Linked DNA regions of Homo sapiens: region 2 is linked to region 1. Evidence: promoter capture Hi-C in human tissues and cell types (Jung and others, 2019). All regions are on one chromosome and are shown on one strand. The core of a region is centred on a gene start or on the middle of the fragment in contact, and the rest is flanking DNA. Distances in the headings are between cores, read along the strand shown. Region 1 holds the start of BAHD1 (bromo adjacent homology domain containing 1). Region 2 overlaps BUB1B (BUB1 mitotic checkpoint serine/threonine kinase B).

Evidence for each region. Contacts are between HindIII fragments. The study calls those that stand out against the background at their distance.
Region 2: a contact is called between a fragment that was not itself captured here and the fragment with the promoter of BAHD1 in region 1, in 2 of the 25 tissues and cell types used here (IMR-90 fibroblasts and small bowel).

What each region holds. Positions count from the first base shown.
Region 1 is chr15:40,437,454-40,443,450 of GRCh38, forward strand. It overlaps BAHD1 (bromo adjacent homology domain containing 1), which reads left to right and starts at 3,500. Exons shown (of 7, transcript NM_014952.5): 1 at 3,500-3,815. RefSeq lists enhancers at 1-54, 2,206-2,743, 3,549-4,050, 4,051-4,550 and silencers at 3,206-3,875, 3,302-3,487, 3,936-3,995, 4,716-4,835, 4,856-4,925. The HindIII fragment of the contact is 6,344 bases long and covers 1-4,153 here.
Region 2 is chr15:40,209,484-40,215,480 of GRCh38, forward strand. BUB1B (BUB1 mitotic checkpoint serine/threonine kinase B) reads left to right here. Exons shown (of 23, transcript NM_001211.6): 17 at 152-292; 18 at 627-727; 19 at 3,016-3,165; 20 at 3,849-3,991. The region is part of intron 1 of LOC107984763 (a long non-coding RNA gene); the gene reads right to left. Among named protein-coding and RNA genes, the nearest start is that of BUB1B-PAK6, 4.9 kb to the right of the region's middle. The HindIII fragment of the contact is 5,363 bases long and covers 854-5,997 here.

The sequences.
Region 1 (5,997 bases), core at 2,250-4,749:
CCCCCAGGGGCTTCCTATGATGGGGGAGGGGGCAAGTGCTGCTGCCGCATTTAATTGTTGCCTTGGTGTCCCTCCCCCAAAGAGCTGTGCCCTTCAGTTCGTCCAGTGGGGCTGAGGAGCCGGGTGGCTCAGTAAGTATTGTGGGGACCTAGACTTCAGGTGCTCTGGGGGTTGGGACAGGGGCTGCCCCACTTCCAGGAAAGAAGGTGGGACCTGGGCAGGGGCTGGAGGGAGGAGAAAGTGGTCACTGCCACCACTGCAGGGACTGCACTGCCGTTGGGGTGCCCTGCCTGGTGCCAGGTGGTTGGATCTCAGGCCAGGCGGTCTTCGGGGACTGCAGCGGGCAGTGGCGGGGAGGTGCTGGGGCTGGGCTGGAGATGACCGAGCAGCCAGTCTGTCCCGGCTGTCAGTCTGGTTGTGTGTGGTGGGGGAAGGGTGCGCCGCGTGGTCTCTCTGGCCCTGGATGTTTTACTCTAGGGCATCTCCCTCTGAGGCAGTTAACCCTTCCCGATGGGTCTGGAGGTGTCTGGGGAGAGAGAGCCCCTGCCTGGCAGCAGCCCGGGAAAGACTCCGGAGACCCGATGGACCCATTCCTCTTTCTACACCAAGTGCCAAACCCTTTTTTCAGTGGGAGACCTCTGGGCTGCCAAACATACCAGGGAGAGGAAAGGTGATGGGCCCCAGGCGTTGGCACAGCTGCCCAGTGAAGTGGGGTGGAGGCAGCATTCACTCAGGAAAGGTTACAGGACCGAAGGAAGGAGGAAGAGGTGGAGCCCTTTCCAGCTGTGGAAGGGCTTTGGACTGGGAAAGAAGGAGGCCCAGTTGCAGAGGTCCCTGAAAGTTGGGTGAAGGAGGCTAGGAGAGGCCAAAAGTTCCCTTTGGGGGACAGGCAGGGTGTAGCCCCTGCCTATTCTTTGCTGGCTTGTTTTAACAAGCAATAGGGAGGAAGGGGGGACAGAGGTGGCTCAGTGAGCTGGCACAGGAGGAACACTTAGTGCCTTTAGCCAGCCCGTGTCCCCGCACCATAGCCCACTCAGTCAGAGCCTCCTGGGGCAGCGGACACCGCCACCCACACTGGAGGCTCTGAGGGGAGAACTCCTCCAGCGGCCAGGCAGGCACTTGGTGGGCTGTCATGACTACTCTGCCTCCTCTCCGGTTGGTATTCCTTCCTTTCCCTCCCACTGAGACCCCAGATAAGACAACACTCCCCTGCTCACCCCAGGGCCCTCTAATGCCAACACCAGGAAGACACCCAATCCTGCCACCTCGTCCTGCTGCCATTTCCTCGGCTGAACGTGGGCTTCCTGCCACTTAGGTCTCCTTCCCTGCCACCAGGTACATTCCTCTTCTGGCCCTCCCGGCCTCCATCCCTGCCCATTATCAGGCCTGAAGTGGCTGCCAAGGTCAGCGCCGCCTGGGCTGCAGACAGGAGCCCGGCCTCTCTTCTGTCTTGGCCTGTAGCATGGCTCTGCCCCCGTGGCCACCACTGCTGTACCCTCCACCACCAATCTCTGACGAGTGGGGGCCACCGTGGGGTTAATTTGCCTATGGGCCAGACTGGGACAGGGAGAGGGGGAATTCTGTGAGGTGGGGAGTAGGGCTGGCCTGGTGTGTGTTGGGGGGGCGCTGCCGGGAACCTCTGTCCTGTCCAGGAAGGGGAGAAATCTTTCAGCGTCCTACTTTTACAGCTTTGGGGTTTTGCTTTCCCCAAGGGTGGGAGGTGGGAGAAGTGGCAGTGGGAGAACCTGGACCTTCGAGACATTTCCGTGCCACAGTTTTAGCTTTTAGCTTCCATTCACACACTTTCCCTGCTGAGGGGGCCCCTCCTTTAAGTGTGTCCCCCCAAACAGCTAAGACAGTCTGGGCCCCCTGGACAGCTCTGGAGGCAGATGGGGAACTGCTTCTGGGGGAGGTTGTTTCCCAGCCATATTGGCTAGCAGCCCTGATTGTCTTAAAAGGCTGCCTGGGTGAGCGCTGGAGTCCCAAGGTCTAGGAAAGGCTGGGCGCTGTGTGTGGTGCAGGAGGAGCCCCTCCGAAGCCCCTGGGCCACACTCCAAGGCTGGGTTTTCCTTGCTTGCCTGGGCAGCCTCAGCACTCTGGGTGCCTCTCTCTGCCCAAGGCGTTCCTGGGGCCCAGCCCCTCCCTGGGCTGCTCCAGCGCTCTGGTGACTTGACACTACCCTTTCTGCCGCTGCTCCTTTTACCTCCTAAAGCTCCCCTCCCCCGCCTGAATTGGGAATGAGGCTTTGTTCAGGGGTGAACTCAGCATTTCTCGAGAACCTACTGTGTGCATATCCCGGGCTTAGTGAAGTCCTAGGCGGGCTCTGGCACCACCAGGTGCCCAAGACACAGCTCCTTCCCGCACCTAACAGGGACTTCCCATCTCTCTCTGTGCCCTTAGCCTGCTGTGCCCACCCACCCCACTGACCCCGCGAGCGTGCTCGGGCTTGGGAGGGCACGTCTGTGGGGGTGAGAGACGGAGCCACAGCATTTGGTGACTAGGGGGAAGCCAGGTAAGTGTCTACACTTGGTTCTCCCGTAGCTTGGGGACGCGAGGGAGGGAGTCCAGCCGCTCCTGTCAGGCTGCCCGCCCCTTTCTCCCTCCCCCGGAGAGCTCTGATGTTCCCCGCGGTGGTGGAAGAGGGTGTGTGGGTGTCAAGGACTCACAGACCAGGCTCTGCTGTCAGCTGGAAATGGATGAGGGCTCCACACTCTGCTTCTGAAGAGGGTGAATTAGGAGCTGGGGTTGGGGGCGGTAGGTGAAGGGCAGAAAGAGGAAAAAGAGATGCGGGTGAGGGGTTACCGAGCCAGGACCGACCTTGCTGGAAAGGAAAGGAGACGTGGCAGGCAGGGAAGTCGGAAAGATGAGGCAAGGGCGGGAGGGGCTTCTCAGCAGTCGGGGCCCTTTTGCAGGAGTCTGGGGCCCTTTCTGCAGGAAAGGGGGGTTGTTCTCGCTTGATTTTCGGCTGGTCTTCCTGAAGCTTTGCCCTGGGGGCAGCAGCCTCCGGCGAGGATGGGGTGTTCCTCGGCCCGCAGTTTTCTCCAGCGCGTGCTGGGGAGGATTTGGGGGAAAGGGGATGCGGAGGGGTGATGGCCAGGGCGGGGGGAGATAAGATTTTTCCGGGGGGGCTAGCAGCTGGGAGATTGGGGTCGAGTCACCGTGGGATACGGGCTCAGGTTCTGAAGACGAAGAGAAAAATCCAAGAAGCCGGCAAAGAAAATCACCCCTTGCCACCACCCTTGGCACGGCACCCCTCCCCCAAGGCCCCACCACTCCCCGCACCGCCTCCCCCGGCCGCCTCGTGCTGCCCCCTGCGTTGGGACGACCGACCCACGGTTCTGATTGGTCAGAGACCGGGAGGGGGAGCCGAGGGCCGGATTGGCTGGCGGAGCCAGCGCAGGGCGGGGCGGCTGATTGGCGGAGCTGGCCGAGGGGCGCGCTGCTGATTGGCTGGGGACGAGGAAGCAGGAAGGAGGGCGGCGGAGGCTCCGCTCTCGGGGAGTTTGTGGGGGAACCGCGAGCGGCGTAGCGGATCCCGGAGCCCGGCCCCCGCCGCCCGCCCGTCCGGCTGCCTGCCCCGCCCGTCCGGCCCCCGCCGTCCGCCCGCCCCGGCCAGGCGCGCCCGCCCCCCCCGACGGCCCCGCCCGGCCGCGGTCCCCGCTCCGCCCGCCCGGCCCCGGCCCCCAGGAGGAGGCGCTGACGCAGCAGCGTGGAGCCCGGGAATTGAGCGCCCCCGGGGGGTTCCAGCCGCCGGATTCCAGCCCGGCCGGGGCCTGCGGGCGCCCAGAGCCGCGCCGTCCGCGCCGCCCGTTCTGGTGAGTCAGGGGCCGGGGTCGAGGAGGGGGAAGGGGCGAGCTGGAGGGAGGGAGCGAGCGAGGTAGGCAGAAGAGCGAAGGGGGAGAGCACCGGCCGCCCGTCAGCGCGCCCCACCGAGCGCGCCGCGCCACCGCCCCCGCCAGCCCGGGAAGGGACGGACGGACGGACGACGCGAAGCAGGTGCGGCCGCCCGCCCGCTCGCGCCACCTCCCTCCCCTGGGTCCGGCACCACGGTCCCGCCATCGGGGAACGCGGCGCGCCTCGAGGTGACAGCCCCCGGGGGCCGCCCGCCTTGCAGGCCGGGGGCGGGGTGGGTGGCGGCCGCAGGGTGGCAGCTCGGCCGGGCGGCGGCGGCGCGGGCGTCCCGAGCTGCGGAGGGCGGGAGGACGCCGGTCTTTCCTCGCCGCGGCGGAGCCGGCTCGCCTCCGAGTGCGCGGGCGGCGAGGCCCCCGCCGCGCCCCCTCCCCCATCGCGGTCCCCGAGGCAAGGGGCCGCGGCCGGGGGCGGCGCCGCGGGATCGCCCGCTCAGGGTGGGGGGCGCCCTCCCGCGCTGGGAGCTGACCGGTTATTGCTGGATGGGGGGCAGGGGATGAGGGCCGCGCCGGGCCGGGGGCGGCAGGGGGGAGTAGTGTAGACCCGACTCGATCGGGCTGAGAGGAAGGGAGGCGCCGAAGACGGAAGGGGACCGGTTCGAAAAGCGAGTGTGGGCCGCGGGAGGCCCTGCGGGGACCTTGCGGGGCGGCGGCCGAGTCCGAGGTGTGGCGGGGGGAATCGAAGTTGTCAGACCGCCTCCAAGTGACAGCGGGACCCTGTGCTCGCGGCCCGGCCTGGTCTTGCCCTGCTCGCTCCGCCGCCTCTCTTCTGGGGCTGGGGGCCGGGTCAGGTCGGGCCCGAGGGGCTCGCTTGGCGGTGAAGCGCCGGACAAAGGCGGCGCCGGAGCGGGCGCAGGTGGTGGCGTCGGGGAGGGGAGCGGGTCCGAGGCACCCACTCCGAGGGGCGGGCGACGGGGCCGGACTCTGCCCCGGGGACTGCGGGGGCCGGGGCGCCCGCCGGGAGGAGCTGCGGCACTGGCTTGCCGCTCTAGCCGCTCGCTGTTGGCCTCGAGGCTCTGGGAAGTGGGGTCTACTTGCCGGGGGCCGAGGGGCCGGGGTGGGGGTGTATGCTCATGATGTGCCTTGGCTGGTGGCGACGGGGTTGCTACTCACCGAGGCGACAGACCCAGTGAGCCGCTGTAGAGCCTGTCAAGAATGAGGGGTTTTTCAACAAGCAGAGTCTGCCTACAGGCAGAAGTCTAACCCCACCTGGGACATCTCCTAGTCGCCCATTGTCGACAGTGTTAGAAGTGCAGAAGACTAGTTTGATTAGGACAAGAGACACCCCACCCCGTGGGCTCCCGCCAGCCCTCCGCAGCTGCCTCCAGCACTTTTCCTTAGCCACAAAGGTACCCACTTAGAAAAATGAGAAGCTGAGTTTATAAATCCAGGCAGGAATTTAATAATGAAATAAAAAGCTTTCCAGTCCTTTTACTTTGTGCCACCTGAGACTTTCCTCCCTACTCTCTTCACCTCGCTGTCTTCCACAAAAAAAAAGAAAAAGGGCCCAGAGGGACCACATGTCTTGGAGGGGCACCACTGTCCTTGGCCAGCTTGGAGGATGCTTAGGAACCACTGGCTTAAGCTGTGAGTGCCTCCATCTCCCCCGGTGACCAGCTGTGAGCTGGATGTTGTTTACCTGCTTGGAAAAACTCATTCAGAGCTCCCATGCCCTCCATGTGAACCCCACACCCAAAAGAAGAGTTGGGATCATAAGGACAGGGAAACTCAGGCTGTTTCAGAATGTGGATTTTGCTGAGAATCTGAGTTCGAGTCCCACCTCAGGTAGGGCTGGTTAGAAGCCGCTCTCAACTGTGGTTGGCTGTAATCCCACCTGGGAAAGCTGCTTGTCTGCCACTTCAGAGGGTAGCATGGGCATGGGAGTTTATTCATGGCCACCCCCCATGGACCTCCCTGGAATGATCTAGACCCCAGCCTGGATGGAGCTGAGGCTTGTGAGAAAGGTAGGTATTACCTCACTCAGGAGGCTAAAGTTTGTTCTGAGATAATTTAATTGCATGTCTAAAATCCAGAGAGTGATGATGAATCTCAAGGCCTTTGTGCCTTCTGTGAGGCTACACGGCATGTG
Region 2 (5,997 bases), core at 2,285-4,784, 230 kb before region 1:
TCATAAACACCTGAGACAGGTGAGTGTAGTTAAATTAACAGTGCTGACTGTGTAATCTTGATTTTTTTTTTCTTCTACTCTGTTATAATATCCATTTTAAGCATTAGGGTTTTTTTGGTGATATATTTTCACCTTTCCCTCCCACTGGCAGAAAACCCTACTCAGTCACCATGGTGTTCACAGTATCGCAGACAGCTACTGAAGTCCCTACCAGAGTTAAGTGCCTCTGCAGAGTTGTGTATAGAAGACAGACCAATGCCTAAGTTGGAAATTGAGAAGGAAATTGAATTAGGTAAGTACCATTGAACTCATGTCCTCTGGTTCATGACAGTATACAAATAAGTGATTATTTGTACTTAAGCTTGATGCTTGAGCACTGTAAATATTCCTAGATTGTATTTTTTAAAAAAGCAATATAGAGGATGACACATCAGTAACTTCATGTCCTAATAATAGGAATTATGTCTTCTCCTCTTGCAATCTTTAACAAATTATTTTTAAAAGTATTCTAGATACTACTAACTGGCAAATACACCAGTGCCTCTATCCCTTAAACCAGGAGGTAAAAGCTACAGGGCTGTATATGTTCACAGTGATTTTTAAATGGAATCAAACTTTCTCAACAGGTAATGAGGATTACTGCATTAAACGAGAATACCTAATATGTGAAGATTACAAGTTATTCTGGGTGGCGCCAAGAAACTCTGCAGAATTAACAGTAATAAAGGTGGGACTGATTCTTTATAATTTCAGTTACTTTGTAAATAATACGGATTGGAGCAATAACTGTCCTCATGTTACCATCAAATCTTTCTAATAATCTCTTTCAATATGTCCAAATATATTAAGTATCCTTTCAGTTTCATTTTTTTTAGGAAATCTCTGCTGATACTTTCTGGCCTGCTCCAATCTGGACAAGTTATACATTAGCTTTCACACAATCACCACACACAATCACCTTGGAATTTCCATTTATTATCATCCTAGGTATTCACATTACCTTTGTCTTATATTGGATACCTAGTTTCTTTTTATCTTTGTTTTTTAAAGGACACGGTCTCTGTCATCCAGGCTGGAGTACAGTAGCATGATCACGGCTCACTGCAGCCTCAACCTCTTGAGCTCAAGCAATCCTCCCACCTCAGCCTCTGGAATAGCTGGGACCGTAGGTGCACGCCACCACTCCCAGCTAATTATTTTTTGTAGAGACGGGGGCCTCTCTGTGTTGCCTAGGCTGGTCTTGAATTCATGGCTCAAGCAGTCCTCCCACCTTGGCCTCCCAAAGAACTGGATTACAGGCATCTAACTTTGCTTTTGAATTTTTTTGCCATTCTGAGTCTCAAAGCTTTGTGTGAAGTTATTTTTCCTTCTTTCTGGATCCTTATAGGATCTTATTCTTGTCCCCACTATTCTGAAATGTCACAATTACATGCCTTTTCATAAGTTTGTTGTCACTTATGTGCTAGGTACTCAATGGCCATTTCAATCTGTTAATTCCCTCAGTTCTGAGAAATTTTCTTCAATGGGAAAATTATTTTTCCCCTCAGTTTTCTCTGTTCTCTTATTCTCTAATTCCTTTTATTAGAGGTGTATATGGCATCTTTGGACAGAACCTCTAAAAATTTAACTTTTTTTCTCCTATATTCTCTCTTTGTCTTTTTACTTTACTTTCTGAGTATATTATCAGCTTAATATTTTTGGTCTTTTTACTAGGTTTTTATTTCTATATTTAATTTTCAAGAGCTCTTTTTAAAATTTTTTACCCCTTTGTCATCTGTTTCTTCTTGTTTTCTTTTTTGTCTGTTTTGATCTCTCTCACACTACAGGCTTTCTTCAAGTCTTTGGCTCTCTATTCGTATTTAAGTATGGGACATTGAAAGCTCTGTGTATATGGAAAGACCTTGACAGCTGTGGACCTCAATGTAGGATGATCTAGTTTGGCCATTTTATTGGAAAACCCTCCAATCTTTAGATCCTTTCTCTTGACCTGATCATAGAAGTCTTCTCCCTCAGAGAAGACTTCTAATTTTCTGCCTGGAGCATATAAGCCTGGCTGCTAGCTTTCTGAAATCTGAGTGAGGAAATTGGTCTGAAGAATAGAAGAGCAGGGAGGTGCATCTTAACTGCTGCATATATAACATCTGATATATATACTTTTTCCTGTTTTCTATGTTATTTCTACCCCCCTCAGTGGTGCCTAGTGCCCTCTAGTCCAGAGCCCTTCTGTTTTATACTCACTAGGTAATAAACTTCTGGACTTCGAGAATAGGGGAGAGGTAGTTGCTGGGCTGGGCTATGGGAGCAGAGGAGGGAAGCTGGGGTCTACCTTCCTGTTTTTTTGTTTTTTTTTTTCTTCGAGACGGAGTTTTGCTCTTGTCACCCTGGCTGGAGTGCAATGGCATGATTTTGGCTCACTGCAACCTCTGCCTCCCAGGGTCAAGCGATTCTCCTGTCTCAGCCTCCCGCGTAGCTGGGATTACAGGCACCCGCCACCAAAAGCCTAGCTAATTTTTTGTATTTTTAGCAGAGACGGGGTTTCACCCCTTCATAATCATTGGTCAGGCTGGTCTTGAACCCCTGATGTCAGGTAATCCACACGCCTCAGCCTCCCAGAGTGCTGGGATTACAGGCATGAGCCACTGCACTAGGCCTACCTTCCTCTTAAATGGGATTCAATCACTCCTGTCTTAGCTCCACCCTCAGCCTCACTTCCATGGGTAATTGGTGCTGCCAGTTATATAGTATAGGAAAATAGCCTTGTAGTGTAAATGTAGCTCAGCTTTCTCCTCTGCCAAAATCAGTTTTTATTCTAATTGGATTGTTACCTCCTGTTCTCTTTCCAGCTTATCCTCTTTCCAGAATTTGTTGTTATTGTGTCTTTTATAGTAGATTTATGCCTTTAAAAATATCTCTTTATTATTTCTCTATCAGAAGGGCTGGAAGGAATGTGTTTCAACCTGCCAGCCATAACCATAGACTTAACTGAACTTATTTTTAAAATACAATGTCTTACAGGTATCTTCTCAACCTGTCCCATGGGACTTTTATATCAACCTCAAGTTAAAGGAACGTTTAAATGAAGATTTTGATCATTTTTGCAGCTGTTATCAATATCAAGATGGCTGTATTGTTTGGCACCAATATATAAACTGCTTCACCCTTCAGGTCTGTAATACTAAAAACATAATTTAAAGTCCTGAAGTAGAGAGATTTGTGCTCCATTTAGCAAAGGAATTTAGTACAAAATTCCTGTCAATCTTCTAGAAATAGACCAATTCAAGTATAAGTTAGAAGCATTGATAATTTTCTCGTTATTTTGACCAAAGATCTCTTTGGTATTTTTTTAACTTTTTTTGGTCCGTTGTCAAGCATAAATAAAAGTAGAATTGTACAATGAACTCCCATGAACTAGTCATCTATGATAATCTTAGCTCATGGTCACTCTTGTTTTAGCTATACTACCCCCACTGGATAGTTTTTAAAACCCAGACACAATATGTCATTTTACTCTTCGGTTTGTTCTTAAGAAGGTTTGCTATGGATTTTGATGATAATATGAATTCTCAAAAATGGTTGGAATGAGGGTATTTTAAATCCATTTATTAAGTACCTATTTTGGGCCAGGCTCATGCTTGATGCCCTTCATCATTATGTCATTAAATCCTTACAAACAATCTTATGGGAGATGGCAGTGTTATTAAAACTGGGACATAGACTCAGTCTACAGAGGTGCCTACGTTCCAGTAGAGAACAAGGAAGACTACAAACCATCAGTTTTCAAGGTATTGAGTATAACTACGATCTGCCAAACTTGAGAAATAGTGAGTTTTCTGTCCTTCAATTTCCAGGATCTTCTCCAACACAGTGAATATATTACCCATGAAATAACAGTGTTGATTATTTATAACCTTTTGACAATAGTGGAGATGCTACACAAAGCAGAAATAGTCCATGGTGACTTGAGTCCAAGGTGTCTGATTCTCAGAAACAGGTTGGTCCTTTTCATTCTTATAATTCTGCCAGCTGTCTCTTAAAACATGGATAGTTGCCACTTTTTTTTTTCTTTTTTGAGGCGAGGGTCTCACTCTGTCACCTAGGTTGGAGTACAGTGGCATGATCTTGGCTCACTGCAGCCTCCATCTCCCAGGTTCAAACGATTCTCCCATCTTAACCTTGCTAGTAGCTGGGACCACAGGCGCGCACCACCACACCTGGCTAATTTTTTGTATTTTTTGGTAGAGATGAGGTTTCACCATGTTGCCCAGGCTGGTCTCAAACTCCTGGCCTCAAGTGATCTGCCCACCTCAGCCTCCCAAAGTGCTGGGATTATAGGCGTGAGCCACTGCACCCGGCCAAGTTGCCAATTTTTAAAGCCTTTTGATAAATGCCATATCGAGGAACATATTATGTTAAGAGAGTATTTACCTAAAAGTCAAAAATCATTAAGAATAGTTTAAAATAATTCAAAGAAATAAACACATTGAGGAAATAGATTAAATCAGATAAAAGAATTAATCACTGAGTATTGTGATGATATATGTCAAGATGAGATATAAAATATGAATATTTTGAGGAATATAAAGTGGATTGTTTAGTCATTCTTTGAGTGGGACCAGTGCCACTCTAGCGAGGATGCCAGCAAAATCAAGGCACTACTCAGTTTCATAGACCAAAGCTTAAGTCAGGCCTAACTGACCTGTTAGCCAAGAGAAGTGGGTAAAACCAGAGTTCAAATACAAACTATGCCAAGGAATGGGGTTTAGTGTTCAAATTAAACCCAGTGTGTCCATCAGGTTCAAGGGGTGAGCACAGAGCAGGAAATAATAAATGAATACTAAGGACTGAGAAAATATAGATCACGTTCAGGCATTAACTAGGCAAAAACAGTCCAACATTTTTGCTTTGTGAAAAGTACTAGAGGACTACTATATTCTTTTAGTGATCATTGGTGTTATAGTATTTGAGTAAAAGCAGCCTGGTTTAAAGATGCTGTGTCTGCCCAACCCTGTGTCTTGGGTGAGGTGTTAACTTTGTTTCTGAGGCCACTGGTATACACTAATAGCTGGACTTACTCTTTACATTTCTTCTGAATACTTAATCTATCAGAAGAGATTGAATTAGACTCTAAATTATAGTTAACGTGGAAATTAAAAGAACCCTCAATGTGTTCCTGTGATTGTAACCAAAAGAACCAGAGAATCCCACCTTCTCCCCTGAGATAGCAGAGTCAAAGGCTTTCCCAGACATAATGTAGCAGCATTTCTCATCCAGGGCACCATAGGTATTTTGGGTGAGACAATTCTTTGTGCAGGTGTGTTCCAAGCAATGCAGGATGTTTTATATTCCTATTCCCCCCCACCCACCCAATTAAGTGCAAGTAACAATCCCCTAAGCCGTTGTGACCACCAAAAATCCCCCCAAATTTCCAAGTATGAGAACCCCTGGTATATTTTCACTCTACTTAACATTAAAATGACAGTGCTGAAATTCCCAGGGCTATGGAAATTGGAAGCAGAGGTTTTTTCTAAGCCTTTTAGAATTGGCCATTTGTGGTCTAATGAAGTACGATAACCCTTCTCTCAGCCACTAGAGGCTCTAGGAAAGTCCATAGTATTAAAGAGGCATTGCTTTTTACTTTGTCACTGCTTATCAAATTTAATCAGAAATTTCACATAGATTCATAAGGAATTAAAAGCCAGAAAGGGGCCGAGCACAGTGGCTCATGCCTATAATCAATCCCAGCACTTTTGGAGGCTGAGGCGGGCAGATCACCTGAGGTTGGGAGTTCAAGACCAGCCTGACCAACATGGAGAAACCCCATCCTACTAAAAATACAAAATTAGCCAGGTATGGTGGTGCATGCCTGTAATCCCAGCTACTTGGGAGGCTGAGGAAGGAGAATTGCTTGAACTCAGGAGGCAGAGGTTGTGGTGAACTGAGATCGCACCATTGTACTCCAGTCTGGGCAACAAGAGCAAAATTCTGTCTCAAAAAAAA